7 separate regions of the Homo sapiens genome follow, and regions 1, 2, 3, 4, 6 and 7 are each linked to region 5. The links are contacts of gene promoters, found by promoter capture Hi-C in blood cells and fetal thymus (Javierre and others, 2016). All regions are on one chromosome and are shown on one strand. The core of a region is centred on a gene start or on the middle of the fragment in contact, and the rest is flanking DNA. Distances in the headings are between cores, read along the strand shown.

Region 1 (3,231 bases), core at 15-2,514, 690 kb before region 5:
TCGCTTGAACCCAGGAGGCAGAGGTTGCAGTGAGCCGAGATCACACCGCTACACTCCAGCCTGGGCAACAAGAGCAAAACTCCGTCTCAAACAAAAACAAAAACAAAAAAAAAACATATACTATATCTATAATGGGCTTTAATCTAGCTTCGTATTTGAGAGGAAAAATGATACATTTCCAACGTCCAGTATACTTTCTTTGTAGCTCCTCTCTGGGCCAAGAAAAGATGTATAGCTTTACTTTGAAATATCTGCCTGCTTTGCTTCTGATAATTACTCAGACTGTGTCTCCTTCCCAAGATGAGCAGCCTCGATATAAGTATGTAAGACTATATGCCACTAGATGATGTCACATAGCCTTTATTACAATAGCAAAATTCTATGCCAGGTACTGTTCTAAGTGCTTTGCATACATTAACTCATGTAGTCCCCATATTATACCCATTTTACAGATGGGGAAACCGAAGCACAAAGCGGTTACTTGGCTTGCCTAAGGCCATAGGAGGACTGTGTTGGAGCTGGGGGTCCAATCCAGTAAATCTGCCTTCAAGGTCTGCGTTAGTTCCCCAGTCCAACTTGTGGGTGCTGGAGACTGGAAATATCTTGCCCGCCCCCCACCCTGGCCCCCCTCGCCCTTCCTACCAGACCTGGCTCAGGGCAACTGCTAAGGCCCCGCCCCTCTCCTCATTCCAAGTCAATCACTGGCGTGCGTCCAGGAAACCCAGTTTACGACGACGTCTCTGGTGCGTCACAGAGCGCGGGGGAGGGGCGGGATCACATTAAAAAAAAAAAAAAGCTTCGGACACCCCAACAACGAAGGGGGGACACCACGTCCCTAACTACAACGCCACTAGAAGGGTTGCGCATGCGCGCCAGCCTCCTGCGCAGCCGCAGAAACCACTCAGCGCGCGAGTCTCTGAAAGGCCTAACGTCCATTTTCAATCCTGCGGGTCTTGCGAAGGAAAACCTGAGGTAAGAGGCCCCGCCCCACAGCCATCTCCTCAGCAAATTCCCGCCCTCGGCCCCGCCCCACAGCTATCTCCTCAGCAAATTCCCGCCCTCGGCCCCGCCCCACAGCCATCTCCTTAGCAAATTCCCGCCCTCACCCAAGGACTGGGAGAGCACCCGCGGATTGGCCGATCAACGGTGACGCCTGTCAGTGGCCAGACTCCGATTGGTCAGCGGGTAGTCCCGCCCCCCCCCCCCCCCCCCCCCCCCCCAACCGCGAGTGTGGGAATTCGGCGTCGCGGGAGCTCTCTGATCCACTCAGGGGTCAGGGCATCACTGGTCTCGCGTGCGCGTGACCAGGCCCGGTTTCCGGTGCCAGGACCTTTCCGAAGCGTCGAGTGGCCTAACGGTCACAGCTGTCGCCCATCGGAGAGGCAGGACTACTGCGAGCAGTTTTACCGCGACCTCCGGAGGCCGGCGTGACAGGCTCTGTCACTAAAATAGGTCTGTCCAGTCGTACTTTTTCCTCACCTTGAACTTTCCGTCACGGGAATACACGATTTGGCTTAGGGGCCGGGGCTCTCCTGAGGAGAGAGGGTTTGCTTTGCGGGGAAGAGCGAGTCTTGACTTCGCAGCCTCCAATTTCAGCCGCGGTGTGGAGGGGGGTGCTTTGGGTGGTCCCCACAGCCTTTCCGGAGTGCCCGCGCGTGTAAGCTTTTGAGATTTGACAATTTGTGAAGTGCTTGGTGCTGACTTTCGGGGACGACAGGATCCTTTTACAGTCATTCTCCTGTCAGGGGAGGCAGGTGGGGAGCGAGGAAGGATCCAGATTTCGTTAACAGAGCTTTGAGTTTAAAGAATTGACAAACTCCCGAGTTGATTTCCTGTCAGACCTTTTGCGGTTGAGACATAGAGTCTGAGGCTTTGATGGTAACCGCGTTTGATTTAGAGACAGACTGTGCAGCTTCGCTGTTTTATTGTAAATACGTAAATGAGGAGGAAGAGAAAAACGTAGGGTGTTGGGAGCAGAGGCGGGAGGCGGGAGATCCTGCGAAATCGGAGTCCCTTTGGAGTGGGGGAGGCCGTCGAGGCGTGCGAGGGCCCGGCCCCCTTGCCGCGTGGTCGTTAACAGGAAAGGCCCTGATTTGGTTGGTGGCGGATCGCGTCCCTCCCTCCTCTCCCCGGCTCTCCCCGAGTGCGGCAAACTGGCTTCAGGTTGACTAAAAGATAGCGATTTTCCAAGCAGCTTTGCCGCGCGGTGTTTTCTAAAGCGGGGCGTGGGCTGGGTGCCCTTTTGGGCCTCACTTGTCCGGCCTGCGGCAAGTGCTGGGCGATGGGATGCGGTTCTGGCGGCAAAGGAAGGGCTGCCTTTGAGAGTCCCGCAGGAAGGTTTAGAAAGTGATTGTTCTTAAAACAAACAGAGCGTTTTGCTGTGTGTTCCTCAAAGTGGTCCCGGTGGGAGTGGCGCCTCATTGTGAGCTGTGCCTTATCTGATGAATTAATGGCAGGTGAAAGCCTTGCGCCTCCGGAGCGAATATTTACGACTTTTGAAAATGTCTTTAATGTCTAAAAAAAGTCTTTTAGAAAATCAGACGGCCTCTTGTTCTTATGTTATCAAGAGTTTAGATTTCTGTGGTAAATATAAGTGAGTTTCATTTTAAGTAAACTCATTTTACGAGATTTGAGATTTGAAAGTGAAATTAATTAATTTTGCACAATCTAGCCTTGGGCTCTGAGAAAATGTTGTAAAGCTGTAATTAATCTTGTGGGACGAAGTGAAAAGGAACTAAAGTGTATGGTGTAATGAATAGTTTAAATTTCTGTGGTAAATACAAGTGAGTTTCATTTTAAGTAAACTCATTTTTATGGGATTTGAGATTTAAAAGTGAAATTAATTAATTTCGCACAATCTAGTCATGGTTGGGCTCAGAAAATGTTGTAAAGTTGTGATTTATCTTATGGAAAGAAGTGAAAAGGAATTAAGGTATATGGTGTAATTAAGAGTTTAAATTTCTGTGGTAAATGCAAGTGAGTTTCATTTTAAGTAAACTCATTTTTACGGGATTTGAGATTTAAAAGTGAAATTAATTCATTTTGCACAGTGTAGTCATGGTTGGGCTCTGAGAAAATGTTGTAAAGCTGAAATTATTTATCTTGTGGGAAGAAGTGAGAAGAAACTAAAATGTGTGGTATTATCAAGAGTTTAGATTTCCGGGGTAAATATAAATGAGTTTCCTTTAAACTCATTTTTGTGGAATTTGAGGTTTAAAAGTGAAATTAATT
Region 2 (3,214 bases), core at 162-2,661, 940 kb after region 5:
CTCATCTAGGATACCTTCAGTTAGTTTGGAATTTGACATGTTAGGTCTACCACTTTAAATGCTTATCCCCACATCTTTCAAATGCCTTTCCTTAGGAATCACATCCCTAACTGCACTGGAAATCCTACAAGGAAATAGGTTTTAGTGTTGAGGTCAGAGCTTATCTAGTCCACATTCCAAGAGGTAGCTCTGGAGCTCGTTTCTAAGTGGCCCAAAACGAATGTCAGGTTGATGGAGGCATATTTATTTACTTATGCAGTAAACTACCCTTTTTAGGTGTCCAATGTGCTATGAAGGTGGCAGCACAGATACAGAAATGACTGTCACTCCCAAAAGTCCTCATGTGCCCTTTACAATCAGTCCCGTCACCTCCCCATTCTGATTCTGTCCCTGTAGTTTTGCCTTTTCTGGAGGAAAAGGAATCATGGTATGTGGCCTTTTGAATCTTTTTTTTTTTTTTTTTTTTTGAGACAGGGTTTCACTGTCACTCAGGCCAGAGTGCAGTGGCATGACCTCGGCTCACTGCAGCCTCAACCTCCTGGGCTCAGGTGATCCTCCCATGTCAGCCTCCTAAGTAGCTAGGACTACAGGCATGCATCCACCAAGCCCAGCTGGTTTTTTTCTATTTTTTGTACGGATGGGGTTTTGCCATGTTGACCAGGCTGGTCCTGAACTCCTGGGTTCAATTGATCTGCTAGCCTCAGCCTCCCAGAGTGCTGGGATTACAGGCACGAGCTACGGTGCTGGCTGTGAATCTAGCTCTTTCACTTAGCATACTGCATTTACAATGCAGCCATGTTGTTGAATCTATCAGTAGTCCCTTTTTATGATTGAGAAGTAGTCTAGAATCTACTGGAGTCCTGGATTAACAGAAGATAACCTCAAATGTTTCTTCAAAGCTAACTAGAATATTAGCTAGATGTTAAAGTCTGTCTCATTGGAAAATGACTTACAATTCGATTTTAATTTTAACTGAAGGTGATACAATTCTTGAGTTTTCTGTTCTAGAGTTTGCCGCAGAAGATTCTGGTACTCTCTCTCTTTTTCAACTAGGTGTTCCAAAAGTCTGGTTTAAAAAAAAAAAAAAAAAGCCATTATCCAGAGAGCATTCAACACCATTCAATTTAACTCAAGCATCTGTTGTGCATACATTAGAGATGGAAAAAAAATGGAAAATGGGACAAGTCTAAGAGTCAGCCTAGAGAGGGAAGCACATGTGTTTCTTCAGGTTCTGTGACTCAGACTTCAGTCTGCAGAGGGGAACCTTCCTTGTGTTTTCCTCCCCTTGACAACAAAGGCCAGTGCTCACAGCTTGGATATATTTTTGCAATGGACTCAATGTGTGCCCCTCACCCGGCCCAAGTTCATATGTTGAAATCCTAACCCACAAGGTGATGGTGTTAGGAGACGGAGCTTTGAGAGGTGAGGTGAGAGGAGTGTCCTTGTGAAAGGAGACCCCAGAGGCTCCCTCATCCCTTCCACCATGTGAGGACACACCGCGAGAAGATGGCCATCTGTGAATGGGGAAGCAGGCCCTCACTGGCCACGGAATCTGCTGGCACCTCGATCTTGGACTTCGAGTCTCCAGAACTGTGAGAAACACATTTCTGTTGTTTATAAGCTGCCTGGTCTCTGGTTATTTTGTTACAGTAGCCTGAACGCACTCAGGCAGTTTTGTCTCAAAAACGTATCGTGAACCAAAAGATGCCGATGTTAATCAGAACTCAGCCAGAAGGACGATGTGATTATTTAAACCTGGCTCCCTAAGTCAGATAAGGCAGCTGAAACTAGAATAGAATGGTAAGTTTCTTTCCTCCTCACACAGGGACTAAACGAAGGGGACAGAAGCCCCTGCTTCTTATTTTGTTTTTGTTTTTTTTTTTTTGGAGACAGAGTCTCACTCTGTGGCCCAGGCTGGAGTGCAGTGGCACAATCTCGGCTCACTGCAACCTCCGCCTCCTGGGTTCAGGCAATTCTCCTGCCTCAGCCTCCCGAGTATCTGGGACTACAGGCATGCGCCACCATGCATGGGTAATTTTTGTATTTTTAGTAGAGACAGGGTTACACCATATTGGCCAGGCTGGTCTCGAACTCCTGACCTCAAGTGATCCACCTGCCTCGGCCTCCCAAAGTGCTGGGATTACAGGTGTGAGCCACCGCACCCAGCTGGAAGCCCCTGCTTGTAATGGGGCAGAGCAGGGACAGTGAGTGAGACATGCTGCTCTGCCGGTGGGGAGGATGGCTCCTGCCAACATCCACCAAGCACTTCCTACCCAGAATCCAGGACTGTGCCAAACACTGCATGAATTCAGTCACTGAAGCCCTGCGGCACTTCTAGGAAGCACTGGTTGTTCTAAACCCCTGTTTTGAAGCTGAGGTAACTGAGGCAGAGGAGTTAAGTAACGCCCAGAGTCCACAGGCTGGGCTCTTCCCAAGGGACCGCCTCCTGAAACCCAGTCTTGCTCATGGGCTCTCTGGGATCAGATATGACTTGGCACAACTGTGCCTCAAACTTCCCCCACATGCCAGCTCAGGCATAGCATGCCTTGGGGGAAAGGGCTGACAGATTGGAACCACGTCTAGCTTTTGTTGGGGCTCAGAAAACAGTGCCCCCAAATGGCCTCAGCAGCAGCCTCAGAAGAAAAAGTTTTCCTCTGACCTTCTCCTGCCTCCCTCTCTCAGTCCATTCTCCTGGAGGCACCATAGAATCCCTCTTCCCCAAAGCGGGGCACAGAAACCAGAACTCCTCCCCAAAGCCAGCCACAAAACCTAAAAATACGACTCTAACTTTCCCTCCGCCTTTCTGTGTAAAAATTGGTTATAAAGAAATTCTTGGCCGGGTGCGGCAGCTCAAGCCTGTAATCCCAGCACTTTGGGAGGCTGAGGTAGGCAGATCACCTGAGGTCAGAAGTTTGAGACCAGCCTAACATGGAGAAGCCTCTCTACTAAAAATACAAAATTAGCCAGGCGTGGTGGCACATGCCTGTAATCCGAGTTACTTGGGAGGCTGAGGCAGGAGAATCGCTTTAACCTGGGAGGCAGAGGTTGCGGTGAGCCAAGATGGCACCATTGTACTCCAGCCTGGGCAACAAGAGCGAAACTCTGTCTCAAAAAAAAAAAAAAAAAAAAATTCTTTGGGCTGGGCGCAGTGGCTCAAGCCTATAATCCCAGCACTTTGGGAGGTCAAGGCGGGAGGATCACCTGAGGTCAGGAG
Region 3 (3,170 bases), core at 1-2,500, 920 kb after region 5:
GATAATTAGAAGTTTTCTGTGTCACTCAACTTGTCATGGACTAATTAGGAACCATTCCTGAAGCTTTTAAGGATAGAACTAAAAGTTTCACTTTTATTTTTTTAAAGGGTGGAATAATAAACTAACGTGTTGACTCTTTGTATTTTGTAATTCTTCATACTTATGGATGTCTTTTTACTTAACTATAAGTAACAAAATAGATCAACGTTTTAGTTTTTTATATTATACATGTAAAAAGACATTTTGCATATAAGCCTTTCACAAAAATCTTGACAGTAAACAATAAGCAGTGGCTCACCCAAATTAGGCAGACTTACTGCACTAGACTCCTACCATCTGTGTGATACTCCATGAAGGGAGGGAGAAGGGGAGGGAGAAGGGTAGGCAGCTGGTCTGATGGCTGTGACACAAGATAATCCCCTTAACCTCCCAAGACGCTGTGTGTTTTTTCCTTTTTTATTCTCCCTGGTTTACTTTCGTTTTGTTTGAGACAGGGTCTCTGTGTCACCCAGGCTGGAGTGCAGTAGCAGGACAGCTCACTGCAGCCTTAGCCTGCTGGGCTCAAGCGATCCTCCTGCCTTAGCCTCCTGAGTAGCTGGGAACACAGGCATGTGCCACCACCACACCCAGCCAATTAAAAAAATTTTTTTTTTACTAGAGACATGGTCTTGCTACGTTGCCCAGTCTGGTCTCCATCTCCAGGCTCAAGCAGTCCTCCCACCTCGGCCTCCCAAAGTGCTGGGATTACTCTCACTCTCTTAAAACCAGGCAGGTAGGGAGATTTATCTCAGGCTTAAAGATTGCCATTGTCTCATCAAAGAGTGTTTGGTGTGAAACTTTGAAATGAATATCAAGATTGTGTTTTTATTTTTGAATAAGGTTTATAGTTTTCATAGTTCTTATTTCATGGAAGAAGATTGAATGCATTTAAAATGTTATTTTATTGTTTGCATTTCTGTATGGCTCCTTTTGTGAGATCTTTACTAGCAATGTTTTGGCTTTATAAGTGGTAGGTAAGAGTTTTAATTTACACTGTTAGAATCTGGAATTTTTGAAACGTTTTTCCTCTTTCACATGAATGGTTCCTATGTATTTAGGAAGTTAAAGTTTTACTTTTTTTTAATTAATTTTTTTTTTTAGGCTGGAATGCAGTGGCACAGTCATAGCTCACTGTAGCCTCAGGTGTGTGCCACCATACCTGACTAATTTTTTAATATTTATTTTTGTAGAGATGAGAGTCTCATGTTGCCCAGGCTGGCTTTGAACTCCTGGCTTCAAGTGGTCCTCCCACCCTGGCCTCCCAAAGTGCTGGGGATTATAGGTGTGAGCCATCATGCCCGGCCTAGTTTTTATTTTTTAAAATTTGAGTGGGTTGTTCGTGGTCTCTGTCAGAGAGGAATCCCATTTAACAGAGAATCTTTTTATGGCTCTCCAGAGAAAATGAATGGTAAACTTATCTTTTCAACAAGCTCTCACTCAGAAATGATACACACACACTTCTGATAGGACTTTTAGCTTCTTTAACTTTGTTCCTTTCACTCATATCAGTGGTTCTTATTTTTGAGATACACAGTAATGAAGCCATGGGAGAAAGTATCTAAGTAGCTTTCTGGCAGTCCTAATCTTTGCAGGCGCAAGATTACAGGCGCATGCCACAGCACTGGGCCCCTTCTTGCTCTTTATTGTATAGCATTATCCTGCCTCATTGTTTCAACTCTAGGATTGAGAAAGAAGTTACCTTTTCTCTGTTACTGTCGCCTGGCTGGTTTGGACTCCTGCCTTCCAAAAACTGCAGTTTCTGTAGTTGTATTTGGAAATTTATTTCACAATACAATAAATTTCTGGCCCCACAAAATATTTATTAACTGCCAAGAATAACACATCTGTTTGATTGCTAAATATAACCATTGATTTGCTGTTTCACCTTCTCTCAGCTTTACTTCTTCCCAAATTCCTAAATTTCCTTCACTTTTTCTGAGATACATTAGTGGACTGTCTCTGCCTGTAAGTTAACTGAAACACTGATTCCTAGTATTTCAGTTGTTTTCCTCCAGCACTGTCATTGTCTGTGTTTGTTGGCTTTGTCCAATAATGGTCTATTGAGGGGTGAAGATATACGTAATTAGCTTTCTGCCTATTGGCTTGTACACTCCAGGGTATACTTGGCAGATCAGTCTTAACTCTTCTCACCAAGATCAGTCCAGTGCTGGATTAGGTAAGGTATGAACACATCAGATGTGCTTTTTATGGAGAAATCATGTTGGTTTACACGTCAGTGTGTGAGAATGTGGCAGAAGGGAGCTAAAATAGTATGATAATACTACTGGATAAATTTTGTGGTCTAACCTAAACCTTAGCCATTACATAGAATACTTTTGCTGTGAGCAGGTTTGCTCAGTTGTAAAACTGGAAAGGAATCATTTCTCACCCCCCGCCTCCAAGCTTTTTACCTCCAAACAGTGACAGCCACCCAAACATCAAGAGAACAGTGTTTCAGAGAACATTTCTACTGGGGCTTCAGGAGGAGCCTGTCCAAGATTTAGGCTGTTCAAATTATAAATTATAAAACAGCTGGCTCAAGCCCATTGTGTTTAAGTCAGAGAGTGCTAAGTATCTTTTCTTTTGTCTTGTCTCCCTAAAGTATTTATCTCATACTTCAATCAATTTAAAATATTTTTTCTTACAGATCCAATTTGATAGAAGAGTCAAGTTTGCCTAGAGTGGAGATTAAATCATAGTTTTATTTGAAGTATAATTTTGGCTTGCTCAAAATGAACAGTATCTGGTTATGACTAAGAATGGCATGAAAAGGCCAGACGCAGTGGCTCATGCCTGCAATCCCAGTACTTTGGGAGGCCAAGGCAGGTGGATCACCTGAGGTCAGGAGTTGGAGACCAGCCTGGCCAACATGGTGAAACCCCATCTCTACTAAAAATATAAAAATTAGCCGGGCGTGGTGGTGGGCACCTGTAATCCCAGCTACTCGGGAGACTGAGACAGGAGAAATCACTTGAACCCGGGAAGCGGAGGTTGCAGTGAGCCGAGATCGCACCACTGCACTCCAGCCTGGGTGATAAAAGCAAAACTCCGTCTCAAAACAAACAAACAAAAGAATGGCATAAACAGACACAGCTCACAGATGATCTAGTCTCTTTAGCCACTAATTTCAT
Region 4 (3,279 bases), core at 493-2,992, 900 kb after region 5:
ACCTGTGGTCCCAGCTATTCGGGAGGCTGAGGTGGGAGGATTGCTTGAGCCTGGGAGGTCGAGGCTCCTGTTACCCATGATCATGCCACTGCACTCCAGCCTGGGCGACAGAGCAAGACCCTGTCTCAAAAAAGAAAAACACTCACATGCATGCTCAAAGAAACATGTGGGAGGATGTTTATTACAGCATTATTTGTAAGGATGAAAATCTAGAAGACAAGGAAACGCTCATTAGTATTAGAATGCTTACCTAAATGAAGATGGCCCCATACTCTGGTATACAATGTAGCATTTAAAACAATGAGGAAGATGTGTATGTGCTGGCATGGAATGATCTCTAAGAAATATTCGTGTGAAAAAAAGTTTGCCAAACAATAATTGCCATTATCACTTATGTAGAGAGAAAAAATAAGATGATGTATTTCTTTAGATTCATGGGTCTTAATCATGGCTGTGCATTAGAATCTATGCATTAGAATCAACTGTGGAGTTTTTAAAACTCCCAATGTCCGGGCAGTGCCCCGGACAATTACATCGGAATCATGCATAGGACTCAGGTATAAGGGCTTTGAAAGCTCCCAGGTGATTCTAATGTAAAGCCAATGATGAGAATCACTGAATTCACTCTGTCTCTTAAACACACACACACTTTTATGTGAACACATAGAATAACAGGCATGAAAAATGCCCACAAAACTGACTATTGTGGTAACCCCTAGAAGAGGACTAAGATTGGAAGGGCTTTCTTGTTTGTCTGTTTGTTTGTTTTTGAGACAGAGTCTCACTCTATTGCCCAGGCTGGAGTGCAATGACATGATCTTGGCTCACTGCAACCTCTGCCTCCTGGGTTCAAGTGATTCTCCTGCCTCAGCCTCCCAAGTAGCTGGGATTATAGGCACATGCCACCATGCCTGGCTAATTTTGTATTTTTAGTAGAGACGGGGTTTTGCCACATTGGCCTGGCTGGTCTCGAACTCCTGACCTCAAGTGATCCACCCACCTTGGCCTCCCAAGGTGCTGGGATTACAGGTGGCATGGGCTACCTTGCCCAGCTGGAAGTGTTAATCTAGGGCTGAGATCAGCAAACTGGATTTGGCCCATGGACCAAATTCAACCAGCAGCTGTTTAATAAATATAGTTTTATTGGAACACAGCCATGCCCATTTTGTTTACCTATTACCTGTGGCCGCTTAGTTGCTACAGTGGTAGAGTCCAGCGGTTGTGACATAGGGACCATATGACCTACAATGCCTATCATATGTACTGTCTGAAGCTTTACAGAAAAAGTTTGCTGATCACAGCTCTAGAAAAACTTTAATCTGTGTTTTTGAAAATAGAGAATTCACTCACATTTGTTTAATTTTAAAATACTTAAACACTGATAAATAAAAATGTAGATATCCAAACTAGGAAAGGAGAAAAGTATGAAAAGATATAGCATATTAATGAATTAATTAATGCTGATGTCTATATAATGGGATTATTTGTGATTATTTTCTTTTTTGCATTTTTTGATATTTTATAAATTAGCCTATATTTTGTGTGTGTGTGTATATATATATATGTGTGTGTGTGTGTGTGTGTGCATATATATATGTGTGTGTGTGTGTATTTTTTTTTTTGGGTGGGGGGAGGGGGTCTCACTCTGTCACCCAGGCTGGAGTGCAGTGGTGTGATCACAGCTTACTGCAGCCTCTGCCTCCCAGGCTCAAGCAATCCTCCCAGCTCAGCCTCCAGAGTAGCTGGGACCACAGGCATGCACCACCACACTTAGCTAATTTTTGTATTTTTTTGTAGAGATGGGGTCTCAGTATGTTTCCCAGGCTGGAGTGCAGCGGCACAATCATAGCTCATAATAGCCTCAAACTCCCAGGCTCGAGTGATCCTCCCACCTCAGCCACCTAAGTAGCTGGGACCACAGGTGTGTGCCACCATGTCCAGCTACTTTTTTGTATTTTTGGTGGAGACAAGAGTTTTGCCATGTTGCCCAGACTGGTCTCAAACTCCTAAACTCAAGCAATCTGCCTGCCTCGACCTCCCAAAGTGCTGGGATTATAGGCATGGGCCACAGCTCCCAGCTATATTTCTAAAAAACACAAAACTTATTTGAACAAGCCATCTGGGTCTGCTTTGATGAGGGTGTGTCCTCCTGCACATTGTATGTCTCTATCGGGTTGTCCCACAGGAACTTGAAATGCAACTTGTACAGAACCAAGCTTTCATATTTCCTCCTTTCTCAACCCAACCCCACAGGCAGTGGGCTCCTCCTGCTGCTTCCCTGGAGCCAGTCCCCTTCCACTCTGTGCCATAAGTCCTCAGCTGCAGAATTAGCTTTGCATTATCCTTCACACCACACGAACTGCCCTCCTTCCTCCGGCTCCCTTCTAGCCCCCTTTCCCCACTGTCACCAAAGTCATCTTTCTAAGATGGAAATCAAATTGAAGCGGCCTCTTGTCTGGAGAGGGTGATGGAGGGGATAATTACGGTGACCCCACTTGGCTTCCATCTTTTGCTGGTGTCACCCACTGACTCTGTTGATGCAGTTCATACAGGTCAGCCTCCCGGGCCACGGGAGAGGATGGAGAAGGTGGAAAGTGGGATTTTGATAGTAGAAGCAGAAGATACACAGCACCGCAACTAGCCAAAATGAAACAGATTGCTCTCCAACCTGCCTTTGCTGAACGTGCATGTACATATATTTTTAAATATATATATATATATATATATATATATATTTAAAAATATATAATAGAGACAGGTCTCTCTATGTTGCTCAGGCTGGTCTTGAACTTCTGGCCTCAGGCGATCCTCCTGCCTTGGCCTCCCAAAGTGCTGAGATTATAGGCGTGAGCCACCACGCTTGGCCGCATGCATGTACTTTGAATCGCCTGTCTTCATTTCCTTCCACCCACACTACCTGCCCATTTCCCATACATTGGCACCCCCTTCTCTGTGTTTGAGGTCCACACCGCCTCTGGATGCCTATGCCCTTGTGCTTTGACCATTTGATGATGCCTCCTTAAACTTTTCTGTAACCATAGGCCAGTGTGGCCTCCAAGAGAAAGTGTTGCTGGAGCCGAGGCATGGATCATGAGAAGAGGAATCTGTGCAGAGATCTAGAGGGGGGGCCACTCTATGCAGAAGAAAACAGCAAGTTCAAAGCTCTGAAACAGAAGAGAGCTTGGGTGAAATGTTTGAGAAACAGACAGTAATCATGCAATCCAGTGTGCAGAGCTGAATGCTTGTCCATAACGAGAATGATCAGCTCCACAACCCCAC
Region 5 (3,247 bases), core at 631-3,130:
CCACTACTTAAAACCAGATCAAAGCAAATGTCCCTAAGCAGAAGGTCATATTTGTGTATATGGGATGGCACATTATAAGGCATCTAATATTACTACTTAATACTAAATTGGACCTATATTAACAGATGTTCAGTTATTGTTTTTTCTCCATCTTCTCAATCTATACGGATAATTAATTTGTTACTTCCGGTTCACCAGGTCTAAATAAAATTTTAAAAAATTATTCATTTGAGTCAAAGGTAATGCTGCTGAAATTCCTAGTACAAAGGCTCTGATATACAGGGATGAAAATGGAGTGATTGCCCCAGGAGTTCTGGATCCACGTGGGTGAAGCTAGAGGTCACAGCACTGTTACTTTGCATCTGGAGGAGGCAGGAGACTCTGCGAAGCCCTCTGTTGTTGCCTCTGACTCCATTTTCCCTCTTTGCTAATTCATTGCTCCTACCTGTAAAATTTTCTAATATGCTTCCACTTTCATTTCCTCATCAAATATTCACCGTTATGAAAAAGAAAATCCTATTGGCTTGGTATCAAGTGGCCAAACTGAGCATGCTGCTACATATTGTTACCAGATTCACTACAGGAATAGATTAAGTGGATTTTATCCCAAATATCTATTTCCTATTACAGTACTGCATCTTTCTAATTTGGTGGCAGCTATGACCTCATACACTGCCTATTTTCCGTGCTTTTCCTAACCAGAAGAGACCCTATTTTTCTCCTTTGCTTGTTAAAGCGAAAATAATTATGCAGCTTTCCATAGATTTGTCCCCAATGTCTTTTTAAAAAAATTTTTTTTCTTTATTTTCTAAAAGTAGCATTGGAAATGTTATCTCCTTCAATTTCATCACCTCTTCATCCTCCTTGGAAACCCGATCCATGGTGGGTATTAAGATCTTTACATTTGTACTGGTTGGGCGATGACTTCATTGCTTTCAAGCCAGCTGGGGGATCTTGTGTGGCAGAGCATCGGACCGAAGCGGAGGTGTGGGTCGTTGCTGCTGCTGCTGCTGCTACTGCTGCAACAGCTCTTTGCACGCGCCCAGCTGCTGTGTAAGGAATCCTCAGGCTGCTAGGTCTTTGCGCCTAACTCACCCAAGGGACCGCAAGCTGCTGGATGAGTGTACGTGTGAGTGTGTGTTGTGTGTGTGCATATGTGCGTGTGTGTGTGCACACGCAGCGGCAACAGTTGGGCAGCAGCAGCAATGGACTTCGATATCATTTTTACCAACAACAGAGATAAACCATCCTCCATCCTGTATTTCTCAGCTCCCGCCCCGAGTATGTTCTCCCCCTCTTCTCCGACTTCCCCCACCCCAGCCCCCGGCACGGGTCCCTCCGGAGGGAGGGCAGGGTAGCTGCGCTGCAGGCAGGATTCCCTCTTTTTTCCGCAGTGACAGGCGGATTCCGGGGCCTCCTCGCCACCTCCTACCCCCGCAGCCACCCCTTTCTCAGTCACGATCTCCCCACCCCACCACCGTCGACCCTCTCCCTGCTTCCCCGCTCTACCCCCCGGCGTCGACTCCAGGCTCGGGCCCCGCCCCTCTCAGCCTCTCCAGCCCAGGTTGCTAGGGCTTGGCGGGGCAACCAAACCTGGCGTGCCAGGAGGCGCGGCGCGCGCGTGAGCGCGCAGGCGAGCTTGTATAAGGAACCAGCGTTCTTCGGCTTCGGAGACTCGAGCACGAGCGGCGCGAGCCCGAACCCCAGGACAAGCGCTTCCTCCTCATTGGCTCCTACCAGAAGGGGGCGGGGTAAAGGCGGGATCGGGCAAAACCTGAGGTGCTTTCCCATTGGTCCGAACGGGCCGGCTGGGGCGGGGCAGTTAGCAAAATAGGCTGCGCGTTCGCTTCTGCTAGAGGGCGGGGCCGGAGGTTTCGATTAGTTGTCTCTGCCGCTGGGGAAGGTAAAGCGGCGACGGCGTCCTCAGGAGCTGTGGGGTCCCCTGCTAGAAGTGGGGGACTCGGCGGGGTGAGTAGTCGCGCCGCCACCCGCCCGCCAAGCCTTCTTACCCTTACATCGGCCCCGCGTCCACCCAGCTTCTCCTGAGAGTGGAGACCCACCCAGTCCCCCCGGGCGGACAAGAGAAGGGGCGGGGGCGCCGGTTCCCCCGGAACGGGGCGACGCGGTGAGGACGTCCCAGCCCGGAGTAGCCCCTCCTCAGCGCTCCCCTGCGCCTCTGGAAGGGCTTCCCCCGAGGGGCTGGGGCTGTCTTTTGGGGTGTGGGGAGGCGAAAGGGTGTGAAAGAGGGGCGGCGGGTCGAGCCCGCCCCGCGGGGTTCCCCTCAGCGGCGGGTCTGCGGCGTCCCCGCCCCGCCGCTCCCGCGGCACGAGCTCCCCGGGGCTTGCGGCGAGGTAAGCCCCTTCCCGCCGGCGCCGAGGAGGGGCCTGCGCGCCCCAGCCCCCTGCCCGAGTTCGGAGGGAGCCCGAGACTCGCCAGGGGCCGTCAGTCGCGGCCCGGGCCCTTCTGACCTTGGCTGCCCGCGAGGGTGGGCTAGCGACCGGGCGCCGGCCCCGCGGCTCCGCAACCTCCCCCGGACAAGTTTCAGGCGATGCTGTGAAGTTCACGACTGGCATAGTGCGGGGAAGAAGAATGGCCCCTTCTCAGACCTTCATACCTTTTGGACCCTCATAGAAATCGGATTCTGGGATTTGGAACCGTCTCCCAGAACGAACAGGTCCTCCTTGCATTGACACGTTTTGTGCCCACGTTGGGGAAAAAAATAACCTGAACATATTTCAGTGTAAAGGCAGATCTTCCTTGAGGGTTTTGTTTTTCGCTTCATTTGAGTGTTAAAGAACAGATGCCTGAATAAGAAAAGCCTGACCTTAGTATCTCTACAGTGAGATTAGACGGGTGCTGTGATATTTAAGTAGTTGCAGATCAGTATTCTGTTAGCACAATCTATTTTAATTGGCTGGAATTTAAGCTGATTTTAGAAAGTATTGTTGACACCGAATGATTTCTTTCTGTGCATCTGAATTAGGTTTGTTTGAACGTAATGGTTATATAGTTAATGTAAAAGATTACACAAATTAATTTGTCTGAGAGCGTTTGTCAGAAACAGGAGACAGAGATGTGTATAGAACAGGATTATCGTTTTAGGTAACATCTGCTGGAACATTTCCAGCTTGTTTCTTTCTTGCTGTAGGGTTACAAAAAAGACATCTTCACCGAGGCTATTCGGAATTACATGTGAGTGACACTTAGATGTAAATTTGTTTTTATTTCCTTCAAGTGTTTTAAAATG
Region 6 (3,392 bases), core at 829-3,328, 520 kb after region 5:
GTTTTTGGCAGTTTGCCATGGTAATATTTCAGAAAGTAAGTCAGAAACATACACAAGACTCCTTGGTAGTTTATTATACTAAAGCTTCCTATAACTCTAACAAAGAAATAGCAATATGTCTACCACCAAGTTTGGCAGAGGATCTGATTTATATCATTATATTAGTCAGTGTGGCAAAGAAACCCGAGGAGGAGGCCACAGTCGGTCTTTAAGAAAAATGTGTGAGCCACAGAACCAGTTCTCCTTGTCTACAAGCTGGTTTTATTTATTTTTAAAATTTTAAAGAAATTTTTATTTTTTTGAGACAGGGTCTCACTCTGTCACCCAGGCTGTAGTACAATGGTGTGATCTCTGCTCATTGCAGCCTTGACCTCCTGGGCTCAAGTGATCCTACCACCTCAGCCTCCTGAGTTGCTAGGACCACAGGTACATGCCATCACACCTGCCTCACTAATTTTATTTTATTTTTTTTGTAGAGACAAGGTCTCACTATGTTGCCCAGACTGGTCTCGAACTCCTGGGCTCAAGCAATCCTCCCTCCTCAGCCTCCCCAAGTGTTGGGATTACAGGCCACTGCACCTGGCCTACAAGTTGGTTTTTTGTTTTTGTTTTTGTTTTTGAGACGGAGTCTCATTCTGTCACCCAGGCTGGAGTGCAGTGGCGCGATTTCGGCTCAGTGCAAGCTCCGCCTCCCGGGTTCACGCCTTTCTCCTGCCTCAGCCTTCTGAGTAGCTGGGACTACAGGTGCCCGCCACCACACCCGGCTAATTTTTTGTATTTTTAGTAGAGATGGGGTTTCACTGTGTTAGCCGGGATGGTCTCGATCTCCTGACCTCGTGATCCGCCCACCTTGGCCTCCCAAAGTGCTGGGATTACAGGCGTGAGCCACCGCGCCTGGCCAAGCTGGTTTTAAATGACCAGCTCACCGTCCCTACTAAAGATACTATGCTATTGCCTGGCTCCAGGCTTGCTGACTCCAAAATTAATACTTCCCTTTCCAATATTCCAACATAAAATTATAATCAGCAGAGGGAGAACAACACATTGGCAACTTAGAGATGAAACAGTTGAGGAAAGATAAGAAACAATATTTAAATACAACCTCTCTTGGAGTTTTATAACCATCTCGAAGGAAGCGACAGCATCCATAACGCCCCTAATAAGAGAAAGTACATTCGATGAGCTCAGAGAAATTTTTTTGCCTTTTTAATTCAAGTCAGCCCTGCACCCTCTTTCCCATGAATCTTTTAGTAATGAATTTTATACCAAGTGTTCTTTGCTGTCAGTATAGTTATTAATATATTTAAGTAATAAGCAAAATCAATTCAGGTTTGATCGGTACTTGGAAGGGAACGCCAAAACATTCCATCAGAGTATCAGGGCTGCAAGAGTTATTACCAAGAGTTCAGTGAACGACCATGCCTTCATTCTGATTTACTGTATTACACAGAGACCTAAAAGGACCCTCACTATTTAGAAAAGCCACCAAGGCAGATACTTGGATTGGTTTGCTCCTACTTGCAAGATTGGAAAGCTGCAAGGACATTCCCCAGGCTCCTGGAAGTTAGGCTTTGGCTGCAGAGGAGGCTCTAAGGTCAGATGCACCTCCACAAAGATTAGCAGAAAGGGAGGGGGCAGCTTCCTGTGCTTAGGACTGTCGCTGCTGGTTTTGGGCTGCAGGCTCCAGGGTTCTGCCCCAGCTTCCTGGATGCTACGAAAGGAGGGCAGGGGCAGCACTCTCTTAATCTGACGCCCTTAATCCATAGATCACAGCTTTGGGTGTCCATTCTCCAGTTCCGTAAGTATGTGGAGGCTGCTACAGCAGATGTGGCTCTCGCGAGGGTCATGGAGGCAACCACGTCCCTAGCCCTAGCGACCAGCACCGCACTGTCCTGGGAGTCATCCCAGGAGGCTGAGCCTAGAACCCGCTCTTCTTGTAAACACTTCATTCTCTGTATTCATTCCCTTCCTACTTCAACTACCTAAAGGGGTTCCCTTTTTCCCACTGAACCCTGACTGAGACAGCTGCTTTCTTTTGGGAATATGATTGGAGACATAGGGACTCCAAGGGACAAAAGCATTTTTCATGGAACCTAAGTAGGACAATCAATCTGCAGATTTCAGCTTAGGGAAACTTACATTCTTTGATAATTTTACCGATAGTTTCAACTGGCTGGAGTATTTAATATTCTCAGTTTAGTGTATCACGGTTACTGCATTTCACCTCAAAACAGGGATTATTTTAACCTGAAGGTAACTTTGGGATTGGCAAGTCCATTGAAATTGTGTGTAAAGTTTGAGGATATTGGGACATATGCATTTTTTTTTCTGGCAGTGACTCTATACACTGTCTGTGACCTCTAAAGGGTTAAGTAGCTCTGCCTTAGAAGTATGGTACTGGTACAAACTGGGGTTCAAAGGTGCCTGCCTGAGTGCCAGTTCTGCTTCTCAAGGAGAGAACCAAGCCACTAAATCACTCGGAGACTTTGTTTTCTTGCCTGTAGACTCAGCTTTGAACGCTGTATGCATCTGCTTAGATAAATCAAGCAATTAACCTCATGGGGAACTGAGGCATGGGTGAGCTGCTCCATGCACATCACACAGGACAGAAGGGCACCAGCATGACTAATGCTTACCTGGAGCTTAGAAATAATTTCATTTTTGGTCACATTTACAAGGTTTACATCTTCCACTGCAAAGGCCGGGAAGGAAATAATGGAAAGAAGTCCAGCATCAATTTCTTTAGATGTCGACGCTCTTGGCAGCATGGAGAACAGAATAGACTGAATGAAAAACAAAGAGGTGGTTTAACCTGGAGATGCGCTAATAGGCGCAGTATCTAGGGACCATGAGCTCGGCCCCAAGGGAACATTCGAATACGGTTGCCAATTTTGAGTAGAGCTTTGTCCTACCAACATGGCCCCTGCTGGCCAACACTGTATATCCAGCCAATGATTCCTATTCCTCAGGCGAGAAGTCAGGGCTTGGGGAGAGCATGGTACTGTCTGAAGCCCACGCTAAGAACTGCTTGTCTCCCTTCCTTCCATGCCCTATTGACTTTGCCAGACCTTTAGGACATGTAGGGGAGGAACTATAGGGCCACCTGTGTCAGTAGGCTAAGCTGTCTTGGCTATGAAGACAGAGACCAGAAAAGAACACATACATGGGGCCAGCTTGGAGAAATGTCTGGCTTCTGTGGAATGTGACCAGTTGGACTGGGTGATCCAGAAACCACTTAAAGGAGGAGTCAAATCCAGAAGATCTCATGAACACTCAGACAAAATGGTAAACCACAGAATTAGTTTAGTCCTAGAATCTTTCTAGGGTTACTTAGAGGCACTATAATATGGCCTCAATTATAAATAAGTGGCTGGATTAGGCGCTGGAAACTT
Region 7 (3,315 bases), core at 763-3,262, 550 kb after region 5:
CCATCTTTGCTGTCTGTTTTATAGTACATTAATTGCTGCTTGTACCCTTATTTCCTTTCTTCTATTTTCTTGAATACACTCTGTTGTCCTTTTCACAACTGTGAGTTTATTAATTTTTAAATCTTTCTTCTTTTCCAATATATACATGTAAGGATATAAATTTCACTTCAAACCCCACTTTAGCTGTAATCCCATACATTTTTATTTGGAATGCTTTTGCTGTCATTCAGTTCTAACTCTTTCATAACTTTCCTTATAATTTCTTTTTTGATCCATGACATATTCAGAAGCAGGCTTGCTAAGTTTCCAAACATATATGACAGGCATCAGCAATTGTTTGTTATTGCTTTCTAATTTTCTTGCATTTTGGCCAAAAAAAAATGTGGCATGCATAAAGTTGATCTTTCAGTATTTTTTGACATTTCCCTTATATTCTAATCTGTCATCACTTTTTGAAAAAATATCTTGTGAAGCTGAAACAAGTAAGTATTTCCTATTGGTTCAGTGCGGAATTCTATGTAAGTGTACTTAATCGAATTTGTTTCTTACGGTGCTCCAATTTTCTATGGCCTAATTATTTCTCTGCTTGATCTAACAGTATCTGAGAGAGGGGGTTTAAAAACTCTCACTAAGATTATGGATTTGTCAACTTCTCCTATAGTTAGGTCAAATTTTGCTTTACATACTTTGAAGCTATGTTGTTAGTATTCTGCAGATTTAAAATTGCTATATTTTTCTTAGTGAATTAGCCCTCTGTCATCTAGCAATACCATTCTGTATCCCTAATATAATTTTTAAAAAATTTCAAAGTCAAAAAAAAAATTTTCAAAGTCTACTCGGTCTGATATTCATACATCAACGTATTTTTGGTTAGTTTTGTCCAGTATATCTTGTCCCACTATATTACTTTCAACCTCTCAGTATCCTATGTTTTAGGTTTTGTCTCTTACAAATGACACACACCTTTTAAAAAGTTTTAAAAAAATAATTTCTATTACCTGGGCCAGGTGCAGTGGCTCACGCCTGTAATCCCAACACTTTGGGAGGCCGAGGCGGGCAGATCACCTGAGGTAAGGAGTTTGAGACCAGCCTGGCCAACATGGCGAAACCCGTCTCTACTAAAAATACAAAAATTAGCTGGGCATGATGGTGACTGTAATCCCAGGTACTCGGGAGGCTGAGGCAGGAGAATTGCTTGAACTCGGGAGGCGGAGGTTGCAGTGAGCCAAGATCATGCCACTGCACTCCACCCTGGGTGACAGAGCAAGACTCTGTCTCAAAATAATAATAATAATAATAATTTCTATTATCTGGTGGATTTCAACATTTATACTCGTTGTGACAGGTGGAGATACTCACCACTATACTAATGAGGAAGACTCTTGTGATTACTAATACTGTATAGTTGGATTTATTTGCATCTTATTTTGTACTTTATATTTACCACACTTTTTTCTTTATTTCCTACCCTCCCCAGCAGCCTTTTCCTCCCTTCACTCAGATGATCAGATTTTCTTTATTCTGCAATCGTTTTTAAAGTTATATATTCCAGAGGCCTGGCGCGGTGGCTCACGCCTATAATCCCAGCACTTTGAGAGGCTGAGTAGGGCGGATCATGAGGTCAGGAGATGGAGACCATCCTGGCTAACATGGTGAAACCCCGTATCTACTAAAAATACAAAAAATTAGCCGGGCGTGGTGGCACATGCCTGTAGTCCCAGCTACTCGGGAGGCTGAGGCAGGAGAATCGCTTGAACCTGAGAGGCAGAGGTTGTAGTGAGCCGAGATCGCACCACTGCACTCCAGCCTGGGTGACAGAGCGAGACTCTGTCTCAAAAAAAAATTAAAATAAAAATAAAGTTATATATGCCACATATATTAATGGTAATGCTTAAACACAAACTCTTATCTTAAAAGCTAGGATAATACCTTCATCCTCCTTCTTAATGGGATAAGGCCCTCAGAATGCTTTCACTCCTGGCCGGGAGCAGTAGCTCACACCTGTAATCCCAGCACTTTGGGAGGCTGAGGCAGGTGGATCACTTGAGGTCAGGAGTTCAAGACCAGCCTGGCATGGTGAAACCCCACCTCTACTTAAAATACAAAAATTAGCCAGGTATGGTGGCACACACCTGTAATCCCAGCTACTCCAGAGGTTGAGGCAGGAGAATCACTGGAACCCAGGAGGTGGAGGCTGCAGTGAGGTGAGATCATGCCACCGCACTCCAACCTGGGCAACAGAGCAAGACTGTCTCAAAAAACAAACAAACAAACAAACAAAACAAAAAAACACTTTCACTCCAGTCTCTTCCTATTCTTCTGCCATATTATTATTTTCTAATACTTAATTATATCTTTTTTAACTCTCTCCCAAATTCCTCTTTATTATTGTTACTATTTGTTCCATACTCCATGTTTTATTTATTCCATTCTTCTCATTTTAAATTCCGTGGCCATTAAATAACAGTATTTACTGTCCCAGTCTCTTAGTTATTTGCTTTATTATACCAAATAATCTGTCGTTACAGTGAACACTGCCTTGACCATTGTTTTTCCTTCTGATCCATATTCTCATCACCATTTCATACTTAATACTTTTATTAAGGAGCCTTCAAACAGCTGTTAGTGAAAAAAATGTACAAAGTTCATATTTCTTACCTGAGCCAAAACAATCTAAGAATTTCTTTTAAAGGCAACAAATGTTTAAAGATACTTCCTAGAGTATATATATTTACAAAATCAAACCTGCAAAAGGACCTTTTTGTAACCATAGCTCTTTCATTCTTTGCATTAAAGATTCAAATAATATTTAGCAGCAAGTATATTTGGCAAATGACTAATGGGAAAAGTTCTTCTCTTTCACAGATACAGGAAAAGGAATTAAGATGTTAGCTTAACTAATAATTTAATTTAATAATTAATAATTAATATTAAATAATTTAATTAATTTAATAATTTCAGCCCTTACTGAAATTATGTGAACCAACTATTACCTCTAACAGAAGAATGATTGTAGGGAAAAGAAAGAGAGATCAGACTGTTACCTGTGTCTATGTAGAAAAGGAAGACATAAGAAACTCCATTTTGATCTGTACCCTGAACAACTGTTTTGCCTTGAGATGTAACTTTAGCCCCAACCTTGAGCTCACAAAAACATGTGTTGTATGCAATCAAGGTTTAAGGGATCTAGGGCTATGCAGGATGTGCCTTGTTAACAAAATGTTTACAGGCAGTATGCTTGGTAAAAGTCATCGCCATTCTCCATTCTCGATAAACCAGGGGCACAATGCACTGCGGAAAGCCGCAGGGACCTCT

Evidence for each region. The method cuts DNA at HindIII sites, captures the fragments that hold promoters and counts their contacts. A CHiCAGO score of 5 or more calls a contact.
Region 1: the fragment with the promoter of SCML1 here is called in contact with the fragment with the promoter of CDKL5 in region 5 in 1 of 17 cell types (non-activated CD4 T cells); the score reaches 6.1 in non-activated CD4 T cells.
Region 2: a fragment that was not itself captured here is called in contact with the fragment with the promoter of CDKL5 in region 5 in 1 of 17 cell types (naive CD8 T cells); the score reaches 5.3 in naive CD8 T cells.
Region 3: a fragment that was not itself captured here is called in contact with the fragment with the promoter of CDKL5 in region 5 in 9 of 17 cell types (total B cells, non-activated CD4 T cells, total CD8 T cells and 6 more); the score reaches 10.4 in total B cells.
Region 4: a fragment that was not itself captured here is called in contact with the fragment with the promoter of CDKL5 in region 5 in 8 of 17 cell types (naive CD4 T cells, activated CD4 T cells, naive CD8 T cells and 5 more); the score reaches 10.1 in naive CD4 T cells.
Region 6: a contact is called between a fragment that was not itself captured here and the fragment with the promoter of CDKL5 in region 5, in 1 of 17 cell types (neutrophils). The highest score is 5.0, in neutrophils.
Region 7: a fragment that was not itself captured here is called in contact with the fragment with the promoter of CDKL5 in region 5 in 5 of 17 cell types (naive B cells, total CD8 T cells, fetal thymus and 2 more); the score reaches 8.8 in naive B cells.

The regions. Positions count from the first base shown.
Region 1 is chrX:17,736,229-17,739,459 of GRCh38, forward strand. SCML1 (Scm polycomb group protein like 1) reads left to right here and starts at 1,265. Exons shown (of 8, transcript NM_001037540.3): 1 at 1,265-1,452. The HindIII fragment of the contact is 866 bases long and covers 795-1,660 here.
Region 2 is chrX:19,361,785-19,364,998 of GRCh38, forward strand. MAP3K15 (mitogen-activated protein kinase kinase kinase 15) reads right to left here. Exons shown (of 29, transcript NM_001001671.4): 26 at 954-1,066. Among named protein-coding and RNA genes, the nearest start is that of PDHA1, 19 kb to the left of the region's middle. The HindIII fragment of the contact is 5,010 bases long and covers 1-3,214 here.
Region 3 is chrX:19,345,852-19,349,021 of GRCh38, forward strand. All of the region lies in intron 1 of PDHA1 (pyruvate dehydrogenase E1 subunit alpha 1), which reads left to right. Among named protein-coding and RNA genes, the nearest start is that of PDHA1, 3.5 kb to the left of the region's middle. The HindIII fragment of the contact is 2,379 bases long and covers 62-2,440 here.
Region 4 is chrX:19,325,593-19,328,871 of GRCh38, forward strand. No RefSeq gene overlaps it. Among named protein-coding and RNA genes, the nearest start is that of PDHA1, 17 kb to the right of the region's middle. The HindIII fragment of the contact is 943 bases long and covers 1,272-2,214 here.
Region 5 is chrX:18,423,728-18,426,974 of GRCh38, forward strand. CDKL5 (cyclin dependent kinase like 5) reads left to right here and starts at 1,881. Exons shown (of 18, transcript NM_001323289.2): 1 at 1,881-1,968. RefSeq lists an enhancer at 1,502-1,796 and a silencer at 2,132-2,201. The HindIII fragment of the contact is 7,790 bases long and covers 1-3,247 here.
Region 6 is chrX:18,938,893-18,942,284 of GRCh38, forward strand. It overlaps PHKA2 (phosphorylase kinase regulatory subunit alpha 2), which reads right to left. Exons shown (of 33, transcript NM_000292.3): 8 at 2,637-2,783; 9 at 1,103-1,156. Among named protein-coding and RNA genes, the nearest start is that of PHKA2, 44 kb to the right of the region's middle. The HindIII fragment of the contact is 3,992 bases long and covers 83-3,392 here.
Region 7 is chrX:18,976,879-18,980,193 of GRCh38, forward strand. All of the region lies in intron 1 of PHKA2 (phosphorylase kinase regulatory subunit alpha 2), which reads right to left. Among named protein-coding and RNA genes, the nearest start is that of PHKA2, 5.6 kb to the right of the region's middle. The HindIII fragment of the contact is 6,188 bases long and covers 1-3,315 here.